Regions from separate parts of the Homo sapiens genome. Here region 2 is linked to region 1. Evidence: promoter capture Hi-C in human tissues and cell types (Jung and others, 2019). All regions are on one chromosome and are shown on one strand. The core of a region is centred on a gene start or on the middle of the fragment in contact, and the rest is flanking DNA. Distances in the headings are between cores, read along the strand shown. Region 1 holds the start of SPP1 (secreted phosphoprotein 1). Region 2 has its middle 30 kb from the start of SPARCL1.

The links. The method cuts DNA at HindIII sites, captures the fragments that hold promoters and counts their contacts. A contact is called where the count stands out against the background at its distance.
Region 2: a fragment that was not itself captured here is called in contact with the fragment with the promoter of SPP1 in region 1 in 1 of the 25 tissues and cell types used here (heart left ventricle).

Annotation. Positions count from the first base shown.
Region 1 is chr4:87,972,509-87,978,121 of GRCh38, forward strand. SPP1 (secreted phosphoprotein 1) reads left to right here and starts at 3,206. Exons shown (of 7, transcript NM_001040058.2): 1 at 3,206-3,292; 2 at 4,374-4,441; 3 at 4,551-4,589. The coding sequence starts at 4,388. LOC124900730 (a long non-coding RNA gene) reads right to left here and starts at 1,261. Exons shown (of 2, transcript XR_007058172.1): 1 at 1,131-1,261. RefSeq lists promoters at 960-3,202, 2,202-3,289, 3,079-3,292, cis regulatory regions at 2,212-2,221, 2,437-2,445, 2,512-2,520, 2,958-2,973, 3,148-3,157 and 1 more and enhancers at 2,464-2,484, 2,847-3,346, 3,109-3,179. The HindIII fragment of the contact is 7,576 bases long and covers 332-5,613 here.
Region 2 is chr4:87,556,569-87,561,882 of GRCh38, forward strand. No RefSeq gene overlaps it. Among named protein-coding and RNA genes, the nearest start is that of SPARCL1, 30 kb to the left of the region's middle. The HindIII fragment of the contact is 3,080 bases long and covers 1,978-5,057 here.

The DNA.
Region 1 (5,613 bases), core at 1,956-4,455:
GGTACGACCACTTTGTCAGGAGCTGACTTTTGTTGTCTAAGCTATTGAGCAATGGAATAAAAGAGTTTATGGTGTTTTTGTTTTTTTTTTTTTGTATTTCTGAAATGCTCTAATTTCATGTCTGAACTTGAAAATAGCACCCTCTTATCATCCACCTTTGCTTGCTACCCTGTGATAAATAATGCCCCTTTTCCCAGTCTATATATGATGAATGGTGCTAGGCTTCCGATTAGCTTTAATTCCAAACTTCTTTATGACAGATTAGTGGTGTTACCAAAATATCAGAGTCATGTCTGAACCTTGACTCAAGGGAAAAAAATAATTACCTGTGGAGCTGAAAACACTGAAATAGTTGGTTACACTTTACTAAGTAAAATATAATTAGAAATGTTCAAATAAACTGGAAGTGAGTTTAATAAAGTTGTCCACCAAAGTAGTGACATTGAACACTTACTTTTTATTATATGGGAATTTTCATGTAATTCAGGAAAAAGACCTTAAGGCTCTTTATTTGTTTCCATGTGTCCTCTTAGTGTGTATAATTTAAGATCACAAATTACTCTTTGCATTCTAGTTTGACAACTAAACTTTTTTTACTTTCCACTCACAAGATTTATAGGGAATTTGTGCATTTTGACCTTTTGATTCTAACAACCAATCATTAGCCAATCAAGAATGGAAACTTTGGAAATATTACAGATAGAGCCACTGTGATTTAAATCATTTAACATGTTAATTCTGACAGAAAATCCTACTCAGAAAAAACAACCAGCAGCAGCATGTTTGAGTGCAAACAGCAAGAAACATCCCAAAACATGACCTCCCCGATAGTCAGAATGACGCAGCATCCATTTCCTACTTTACAGAATTGCCTCCCATTATAAATCACTTTATCTTCTCAACTCCAAAGCATCCCAGACACATTCTTTACCCGTGAATTCACAAGCCTTTTCTCTGAGAGAGGCCTTGGGACTAGGAACTTTTTGAATGAGTGTAGAAGTCGGGAAGGAGACAATAGTGTCAACTTGGGATTGCCTAAGGCAACAACAGAGCAAAACAAGAACGCTTTGGTTCTCTGGGTCTCTGTCCCTGATTGCATAGCGGGTCATTGTTGGGAAATATTTCCTCACCTGGCATTCCAAGAAATGGAGAGCTCCACAGCTGTATATAGTCCTGTCATTAAATACAGGAGTGTTCTATCCCGCTGGAATTAAGAAAATTGGTAGAACCAGATTGTGGTCTGAAATCTTTTTTCAGAAATGCTGCCATCGTGTGGCACTGCGGAGCTATGACCAGAAGAGTCCTGTAAAGGGTCGTATGGTTCATCTCAAGATGGCTGGGCTCCAGCATAATCTATTCCTATAATTAATTCTAGCTTCATATTGAATCATTCCCGTGGGCACAGAGTAAACTACAGTAAATCCTGTGGAAATTTTGTTGTTTTTAGAATTTTCAGACTTCCCTCCACTAAATTGACAACATGACACGCTTATGCGGGTATGTTTAAAGGAAAAAAATAGTTTTTAGAAGCAGAAAAAAGAAGTCTATTTTGCAACTTTATAATCTGTGTGCTTTCTATTTTATAGAGATAGTCGTCATCTTACTTATTAAAATGGGTGCTTATTACCTACAAACCAATCATATCAATTCATCTGGAATACATCCAATTTAAGGGAGACATATTTCCCCCTACCAAATGTTCATGAAACCTATGAATTAGCTATACACTATCACTGCAAGACATTATTTAATCTATATTTATATTAAAAGTAATATTTGGCAAAAGGAAGCTGACACTTTAGGACTAATAAAAACCACAATTACTTTTGCAGCAACCTAATAATAAATAGGACCATTTATTTTTCATCTCAATTACACACAAGTCTTAACAATAAAGGTGTAAGGTAAATAAATAGTGCAATCTGCATTTCACAACTGAGAAAGCAAATGAAGATAAGTAATCTCAAGGCAATATTAAATATTTTAAAAGGACCCAGAGCTCTGCTATCCCTGAATTCTGCTCTAATATTCGGACTTTCCCTGTAATTTTCTTTCATTCAGACACCTTTTAAATACCTAGTAAAGTGTTTTTTAATACAGAAATTTTTAAAAATGTTTTTCTTTTTAAGTGGCCTACTTTACATACCTTGGGAGAAAAACTAGAAAAAAAGATGATTCCAAAATCGAATCTGTTCCTTTAGAAATGTGCAAAATTTCCTTATTGATGCATACAATTTAAAGATCTTACGTCTACTCTCATTTTAATAACCTGTTCTTTTAAAGGACATTACAATTCGTGACTGCCTGCCCCTCTTAAAAATTTCATAATAGTTAACACACATATAGTCCTTAAGATACGCAGAGCATTTGCATCTAATATGTGCTAAGCATTGCTAGTTTAACATACTAATTCATTTAAACCCCTCAAAAACCCCATGACCTAGGTAATAGTATTGCATTTCATGGATGAGGGAACAAGGATAGGTAGGCTGGGCGATTTGCCCAAGGTTGCACAGGTCAGCAGTGACACAGCGGAATTCAGAACCACGGTCTGGCTCCTGAAGCAGCCCTCTCAAGCAGTCATCCTGCTCTCAGTCAGAAACTGCTTTACTTCTGCAACATCTAGAATAAATTACCATTCTTCTATTTCATATAGAATTTTATATTTTAATGTCACTAGTGCCATTTGTCTAAGTAACAAGCTACTGCATACTCGAAATCACAAAGCTAAGCTTGAGTAGTAAAGGACAGAGGCAAGTTTTCTGAACTCCTTGCAGGCTTGAACAATAGCCTTCTGGCTCTTCAATAAGTACAATCATACAGGCAAGAGTGGTTGCAGATATTACCTTTATGTTACTTAAACCGAAAGAAACAAAAATCCATTCTATTTAATTTTACATTAATGTTTTTCCCTACTTTCTCCCTTTTTCATGGGATCCCTAAGTGCTCTTCCTGGATGCTGAATGCCCATCCCGTAAATGAAAAAGCTAGTTAATGATATTGTACATAAGTAATGTTTTAACTGTAGATTGTGTGTGTGCGTTTTTGTTTTTTTTTGTTTTAACCACAAAACCAGAGGGGGAAGTGTGGGAGCAGGTGGGCTGGGCAGTGGCAGAAAACCTCATGACACAATCTCTCCGCCTCCCTGTGTTGGTGGAGGATGTCTGCAGCAGCATTTAAATTCTGGGAGGGCTTGGTTGTCAGCAGCAGCAGGAGGAGGCAGAGCACAGCATCGTCGGGACCAGACTCGTCTCAGGCCAGTTGCAGCCTTCTCAGCCAAACGCCGACCAAGGTACAGCTTCAGTTTGCTACTGGGTTGTGCATTCAGCTGAATTTCATGGGGAAGTCCAAATTCTAAGGAAAAATATTTTTAATTGTAATGCTGTTAAACAGACTTAAATTTTCTAGCCTTTTTAATAAGCAGATTAGATACATTGCAGGTCTCCTGGAACAAAGGTGTCTAGATATTTTGAATGCCAATCAAATTTAAAACTTAAAAATACTTCCACTGGGTCCTCAAAAGAACGGAAACCACCGATGCTAATCAGAAAATAGTAAAATTAAATTCCCCTTTGGAATAATTATACCTATATAATTTTCAGTGGGTGACTGTGCAGGAATTTAAAAGAAAAGGGATCTTTTATGCTAATTAAACCAATTACAATGCTATTTTTTAAATGATGTATCTCACTTTTAAGGGGAAGAAAACCCTTTCTGAATATGCCACTGCTAAATTTAGCTGTTAAAATATTCACCAAGATACCTGTATGACACTGTGTAGGCTTATTATTACAAATAGAAAAGCTGTTGGCTATTTTCAATGTTTTCCTTTGAATTTCAAATTTTTAGAACATCTTACTTAAATAACAAATTTCAGAGATAGTTTGATTTCACCTAAGTAGCACCTACTTGATAATTAAGCTAAAAGTCACATTTAAAGTACATGTTGGAAAAATGGATAAAGCAAATTTTTTTCATTTTTTTCTGTGAGTTTTTTCTTCTCTAAAAAATATTCCCATACTAGCTTATTAATATAATTAAGTTACTGTTGATCTGTTTGTAGGTTTAGAGAGCTAGATATATAAGGTAGTAATGGTATAATTTCTGGAACTCTAAATTTTAAAGTTGAATAAATACAGACTTGCAAAATTTCCCTTTCCCTTGCCTAATAGTGAAAGATGGATAATAGGTGGCAATATAAATATTAACTTGAAAGACTATAATACTAAAAAGAAAAGGCATCTCTAAGAAGTAGAAAAGATTCTATAGAAAATATATTTTATTTGTGATCATTTTGTAATGTGGTAGTATAAAAAGGTATCACTGTTGTAACCTATGAAGATGTCAGCTATTCCTTATGAAATATTTTGCAGGAAAACTCACTACCATGAGAATTGCAGTGATTTGCTTTTGCCTCCTAGGCATCACCTGTGCCATACCAGTGAGTACAGTTGCATCTTAAAGAAAATTCCTGAAAATAACTGAATTGTGTGCTTCCATGTGCTAGGAGGACATTCTTGTAATCTTTCTTCATCTTTTCTGTTTCTAAGGTTAAACAGGCTGATTCTGGAAGTTCTGAGGAAAAGCAGGTAAGCATCTTTTATGTTTTTATATAGTTAAATCATTTACTCAATTATGGCGAGAGGTGCAAGAAACGTATTTGCTGCGATATTACTTATCTTCTCAGTCAAATCCATTGGTTTACAAGTATTGATTGACTGCCTGCTATGAATCTAGGCCAGTACCAAGCACAGTATAGTTTTTAATAAATATAAGTTTATAAAACCAACCCAGATATTTTAAATATAATAATATCTAGGCATGTATGATGAGTTATCGCATGTAAGATAAGTTATATGAAGTTGTGTGACTTTTTTTCCATTAGTCCACATACTGATCTAAAAGCAGAAAATTCCAGCTTTTGCTTTGTTTAGTGGATTGCTAAGTTTAAAATTCACATTGGATATTAGTCAGAACTGTTTGTATGACCATAATATTCACAATATTGTCTGAGATATTAGCTGAGAAGCCCATTGTGAAAAGAAAGTCTATGTGTGCTGTTTGTATCTATTGTGATTGTCAGCTGATGTTAGATCACATTTTCTAACCAAACATAAGACCAACCAAACTCTTTATTATAATTATTTGACCAGCACTAAAGATGTACCTACCCCTCCACAACAGATGAAACTGTGCCAGCCAAACAACAAATGGGCATTGTCCCCAGAAGCTTGGACAAAAAGGCACACAGAGTTCAATTCCAGTTGAACAGAATAAAGGCCAAAATAGAGCTGCCTTGGGGGTCACTGCAATTAGACTGCTTAATGAAGACATTAAAAGAAGTATTCTGTGTTCGTTTGTGTGTGGAGGGGTGTGTGTGTCTGTTTTTCAACTGATTTGAAAATACAGGTGTTGAATCCTAATAATAAACCAGAAAAATTAACATCTCCAGAGAAGATAGAGGTCATACTATTTGAGGCAAGAATTAGCGTCTTTTTAATAAACGAAAATATGGCAAAGATGCATTTTAGAAGGCACGTGGAGCTATAACAATTTAAGAAATACGTGAAGAGCTCAAGGCTCAGCCTTCTAGAATCCCAGAAACTTAAAGCT
Region 2 (5,314 bases), core at 2,268-4,767, 420 kb before region 1:
TAACAAATACAGACAAATTAACTCAATAAAACCGGCATTCTACTCAACCACAATAATAAAGAAAGACAATTTCAAATAGTTTGAATGTAATGCAGACATTTTCAGAAAGGAAATACATTAGCCTTTGAAGTAGACCAATTAAAATTCAAGAAACCATATTAAGTTTTGAGTTTCCAAGTATTTTCCAAATCTTTTTCTCGTAGTTCTTTGTCCCATAATGAAGGTCTAGCTCTAGTGATCAGTGGTGATGCACAGTTATATTTGCAATGTTATCAATTACCAAAACTCTTTTGGGTTTTTGGTTAAATGCTATTTTGTATGATTAGAACTCTAACAAGTAGCAATGTGATCATCTACATAGCCTGTACTTAGGGTTTTAAAATACTCTGTCCATGGATAGAGTGGTGTAGACATCAAAGTATTATAGACCCTAAAATTTAGAGTAAAAACTACCTCTGTGGTCAGTGCAATCACATGCTGAGGACTCCTAAGTCTGATTTACTCGGGACATGTATTGCTTTCACATTTCAAAACAAGCTTTAAAAAAATTCAATCTAAGGTTGCAATTGGTTATTTACCAGTTTAGAATTATCCTATAATTTAGAGGTAGTTTTCTGCTCTGTGAGAGTTGGTCCACAGCATCTCTAGGAAGTCAGCATTTTAAAATATAATCAATGAAAATTAATACACTTGGGAATTAGCATGTTAATGGAACTTGAAAGAAGAAGGCTCATGTTGCAATGTTACCTTTAGAAGAAGGTAAGTAACCCTTTTATAGAAAGGGGATTAATAGTGGGTCTTTTTCTGTAGCATGGTCAATGGCCAAAGAATGATTTTGCTTCATAGACTGTGATTGTGATTCATTAGGGAATACCTAAAATGAAGGGAGCTTTCTATCCAGCCGGCTTAGCTTCATAAATATGCCTGTAAGAACATCCCACGTCCTGTACTTTCCTTCTGCAAATATTTGCTCTGAGGTTTGTGCTCTTGGGTGATCCACCAAGCCAGAGGAAATGAGTACCCTTCCCCTGGGCAAGCTTTGTCAGATATAGTTATACTTGATATGCTAGCTTGTAGATACATCTCTTGGGAGTTTGGCATGGCTCAATGCCTGTATATTCTTCTATCTCTAGGTCAATGAATAAAATAGCTCCTAGTCCCCAAAGCTGGGAGCAGATCATTGACCTCAGTGTAAGCCATTCACTGAGAGTCAGTTTGAAATAGCCATTCCTGAGTTCAAATTATCACATTTACCTTATACTAACTTTATGTTTAGGAAGCACTATTTTAATTTAAATAGTTCTCAATTTTAAATTGGGCATGCAAAGAAAGGAAAGGTAATGCTCTTAAAAATAAACGATTTCTCCTCTACATACATAGTAGCATGGGAAAAAATATTGATAATATTAAATGCTGTTGAGAATGCAGAGATACTTAGATCTCTCATACTGAGATCTCTCATAAATTGGGGCATCTACTCTGGAAAAGAGTTTGGCAGTTTCATATAAAATTAAACATTACTTACCATACATTCTAGCATATGCAATCTTGGGCATTTATCCTAGAGAAATGAAAACTTATGTTCACACAAAAACCTGTACACAAATATTTTCTGCGGCTTTATTTGCAATAACTCTAGGTGGAAACAACCCAAGTGTCCTTCAAAAGGTGGATGGATAAAGAAACTGAGGTAAATCTATACAATGGAATTCTATGCTGAAATATAAAGGGGTGAAGTATTCATATAGCACGTCAGCTTGGATAGATCTTAAGGGTATTATGCTAAGTGAAAAATGCCAGTCTCAATGGGTTACATAAGATATGATTCCACGTATATCACATTCTTGAAATGGTAACATTTTTAAAGATCAGGTAATGGAGACAGATCAGTGGTTGCCAAGGATTAAGGATGAGGATGGAGAGCGGGTGCGGCTATAAAGGGGTATCACAACAGAGCTCCTTTGTGGTGATGGAATCTATACGTGAGATAACATTTCATAGAACTATGCAAAACAATGACTGCATGTGAAAACCAATGGAATTTTAGTAGTCTATAGTCTAGTTAGTAGTATTCCTGGTTTTGATAATGCATTATACTTAAGTAAGATGTTACCTTTGGGGGAAACTGGGGGAAGGGCCCGCAGGACCTTTCTGTACTATTTTTTGCAATTTTTCTTGAGTTTATAATTATTTCAATAAATTAAAAATAATGACTACATTAACACATAAGCCATGACAGATTTCTTTCTTTCTTTACAAGGGAGCAATGCAATAGGAGGGAAAATGCCAAACTGCAAATTAAAAGAGTTCTGCTTTTATATGTCTGTCCCTCTGGGAATATTTCTTCTGAAGAAAGATTTCCCGGGATAAAGTTTGAAAACCACTTCTTAAAAGATTGTGGAAATTTCTTGAGACAATAAAAATCAAATCATGTGAAATCATTTAGTTTTTAATCAAGAAAAGGAGTTGTATTTTAGAAGGTGATCTGATACATTATTTGTTACAATCAAGGTTATACCTTCCAAGGGAAGTGATTACAAATAGCCACATAATTTAGACATGGTATTAGAATTCGTTGGTTTGTTATGAAATCACAGATGCTGATTTAACCCTAGCTAATATACTGTTTGCTGCATTGCAGAGAAATGAAATTGTTAGAGGACTCATCCTAGCAGTCACTTAAAACTGGCAGTTAGCTGGTGGCGTCATGATTTTTTGATCTGAGATCCAGATAGACAAGACACAGGATTTGTTGCCAAAGCAAACTGCATCTCTAGATACTCCAGCACTATTTATTTGCATTCATAAAATTTTGCTCTCATTCAGATATTTTGAACTGCAGAGCAGTTTGTGGTGGTTGTCCATTGCCTTGTGTAGCATGTACACAATGTTTTGTGTAGCATCTGTGGAGGCAAAGCTTTCTTGATAGGCTCTGTACAAATGGGGTTTGGATGGTTCACTGTCTGTGTTCAGCATATCTATCCAGAGCCCCAATTCGTCTCTCCTTCCGGTGACCGATGCCTGATTACTACTGTGGTACCTAGGCAGGGCCTCCGGGTAATTATAGAGTCGGCTCTGTGGTTGTCTTCCAGGAAATGGCAAGTACCAGTTGCCCTAGTGTGTCCCTGCAGACTTCACTCAAGGGACAACAGGAAACAAATGCCATATAAGGGCATCCCACGGCAGCTGCTGCTTTTCTGAGGACAATTGGAAGGTAGACAGGTTCTCTTTTGCCATTTCCATTACCCCTTTCTAGATCAATTTTAGCTCATTATTAAGAAAAATGTGTGGATATATGATGATCCTCAAAAGGACCTACATGAACTTTTCTTTTATCTTTTCTTTCTTCTTTTTCTTTTTCTTTCTCTTTTTTTTTTTTTTTTTTGAGACAGAGTTTTGCTCTTGTCACCCAGGCTGGAGTGCAATGGCACAATCTCGGCTCACTGCAACCTCCACCTCCCCGGTTCAAGTGATTCTCCTGCCTCAGCCTCGTGAGTAGCTGGAATTACAGGCGCCTGCCACTATGCCCGGCTAATTTTTGTATTTTTAGTAGAGATGGGGTTTCACCATGTTGGCCAGGCTAATCTCGAACTCCTGACCTCAGGCGATCTGCCTGCCTCAGCCTAAGTGCTGAGATTAGAGGCATGAGCCACCACGCCTGGCTACATGAAATTTTGCACCAGAGTTTTAGATACTTGCTGTTGACTTTCTTCTATTTACAGTGACTCTGAGAATGTATTTGCAGCTTTTTAAATATTATTAGCTTTCTGCTAAGTCTCCTGGAAAGTCCTTAAAAGAGTTTCTCTGTTTTTATCATTTATTTGAGAGAACAGTAGCTTTATTAGCTTGTAGCCAGAAATAGATTTTAACGTTATAACTCAATTCCCAGAATTAAATTTATCAGTTGTAGAAATTCAGCTCTGAACTGTTAACTTTTGCTGTATGATGTGAAATGAGAGCAGGAGGAGAGGAAGTATGTTACTGGCAGAAGACAAGTCAGACAGGATCTTCTCAGGTATCCTCATAGTCAATTGCTCTTGGCAACTTGTTCCATTTTCCTACCATCAGAGGAAGTTGACAGGATGTCATAACATGAAAGGAGGCCGTTGTAGGAAAAGCTTTGGAATGCCATGGACTATTATGTGGCCATTAAAAATAATGAATTAGAGGGCATCCAAATAATTTGCAGGAATTTCCATAAATTATTGTCGAATGAGGAAAACAAGAGGCCAAAGAGTGTGATGCTGTATGGAGCACTCAGCACTAGTCTCTCTTGCTCGCAGGTTGTACGTTTGGCAGGAGTAGCAGCTAAATCAACCTTGATGAATGGGAACCTAGGTTGGACATATGCATAGCCTCTCTCCCTGCCATGATGGTTACTTCATCCACTTGGCCATCTGATTGGGGTTGCTGATGACAGAGGCTGACTGATGTGAGTTGGCTGAGTCATTTTGTCTATGACTGGCTGTTTGGTGTTCCTTCCATGTTGGCACTCTTTGGTGGGTGTTAACATGTCTCATGAAACTCTTCATTCTTCATGCTTGTTCTTTAATGTCCAACTGCATGTCTATTTCCAACATCTCCTTTTTCTAGATTTTCCAATCTTTTCCTTTTTTAAGCCCCTGTGGTGGGTTGAACAGTGTCCCCCCAAAATTCATGTCCACCTCAAACCTCAGAATGTGACCTTATTTGAAAATAGTGTCTTTGCAGATGCAATTGGTTAAAAATCTTGAGATGAAACATCTTGGAATCGTCCTGAACATATCTTGACTTGTGTTTTTATAAGAAGAGGAGAGCACAAGAGAGCTCCATAGGGAAGAAGGTGATATGACAACAGTGGCAGAAATTGGAATGATGAGTCTGCAAGTCAAGGAACACCAAGAATTGCCAGCAATCACCAGAAGCTAGGAGAGAGGCCCGGGATGCTTTCTTCCTTGGAGCCTCCAGAAAAACCAACCCTGCTGACAACTTGATTTCAGACTTCTGGCCTCCTAAACCATGAGGGAGTAAATTATTTTTATTTTTTTTGTAGAGACAGAGTCTTGCTACATTGCCCAGGCTGATCTTGAACTCCTGGCCTCAAGAGATCCTCCTGCCTTGGCCTCCCAAAGCTCTGGAATTATAGGAGTGAATCACTGTACCCAGCCAAGAGGGAGTAAACTGAAGCTGCTCAATTTGTGGTCATTTCCATGGCAGCTCAGTGAAACTAGTACAGTCCCTGACCAGCAGGCCATGCGTTGGCCACTGTCCATAAGTCCATGTATATTTTAATCTTGGATCACTTCCTTTTTTGTACAAAGTGGATGATCAGGTA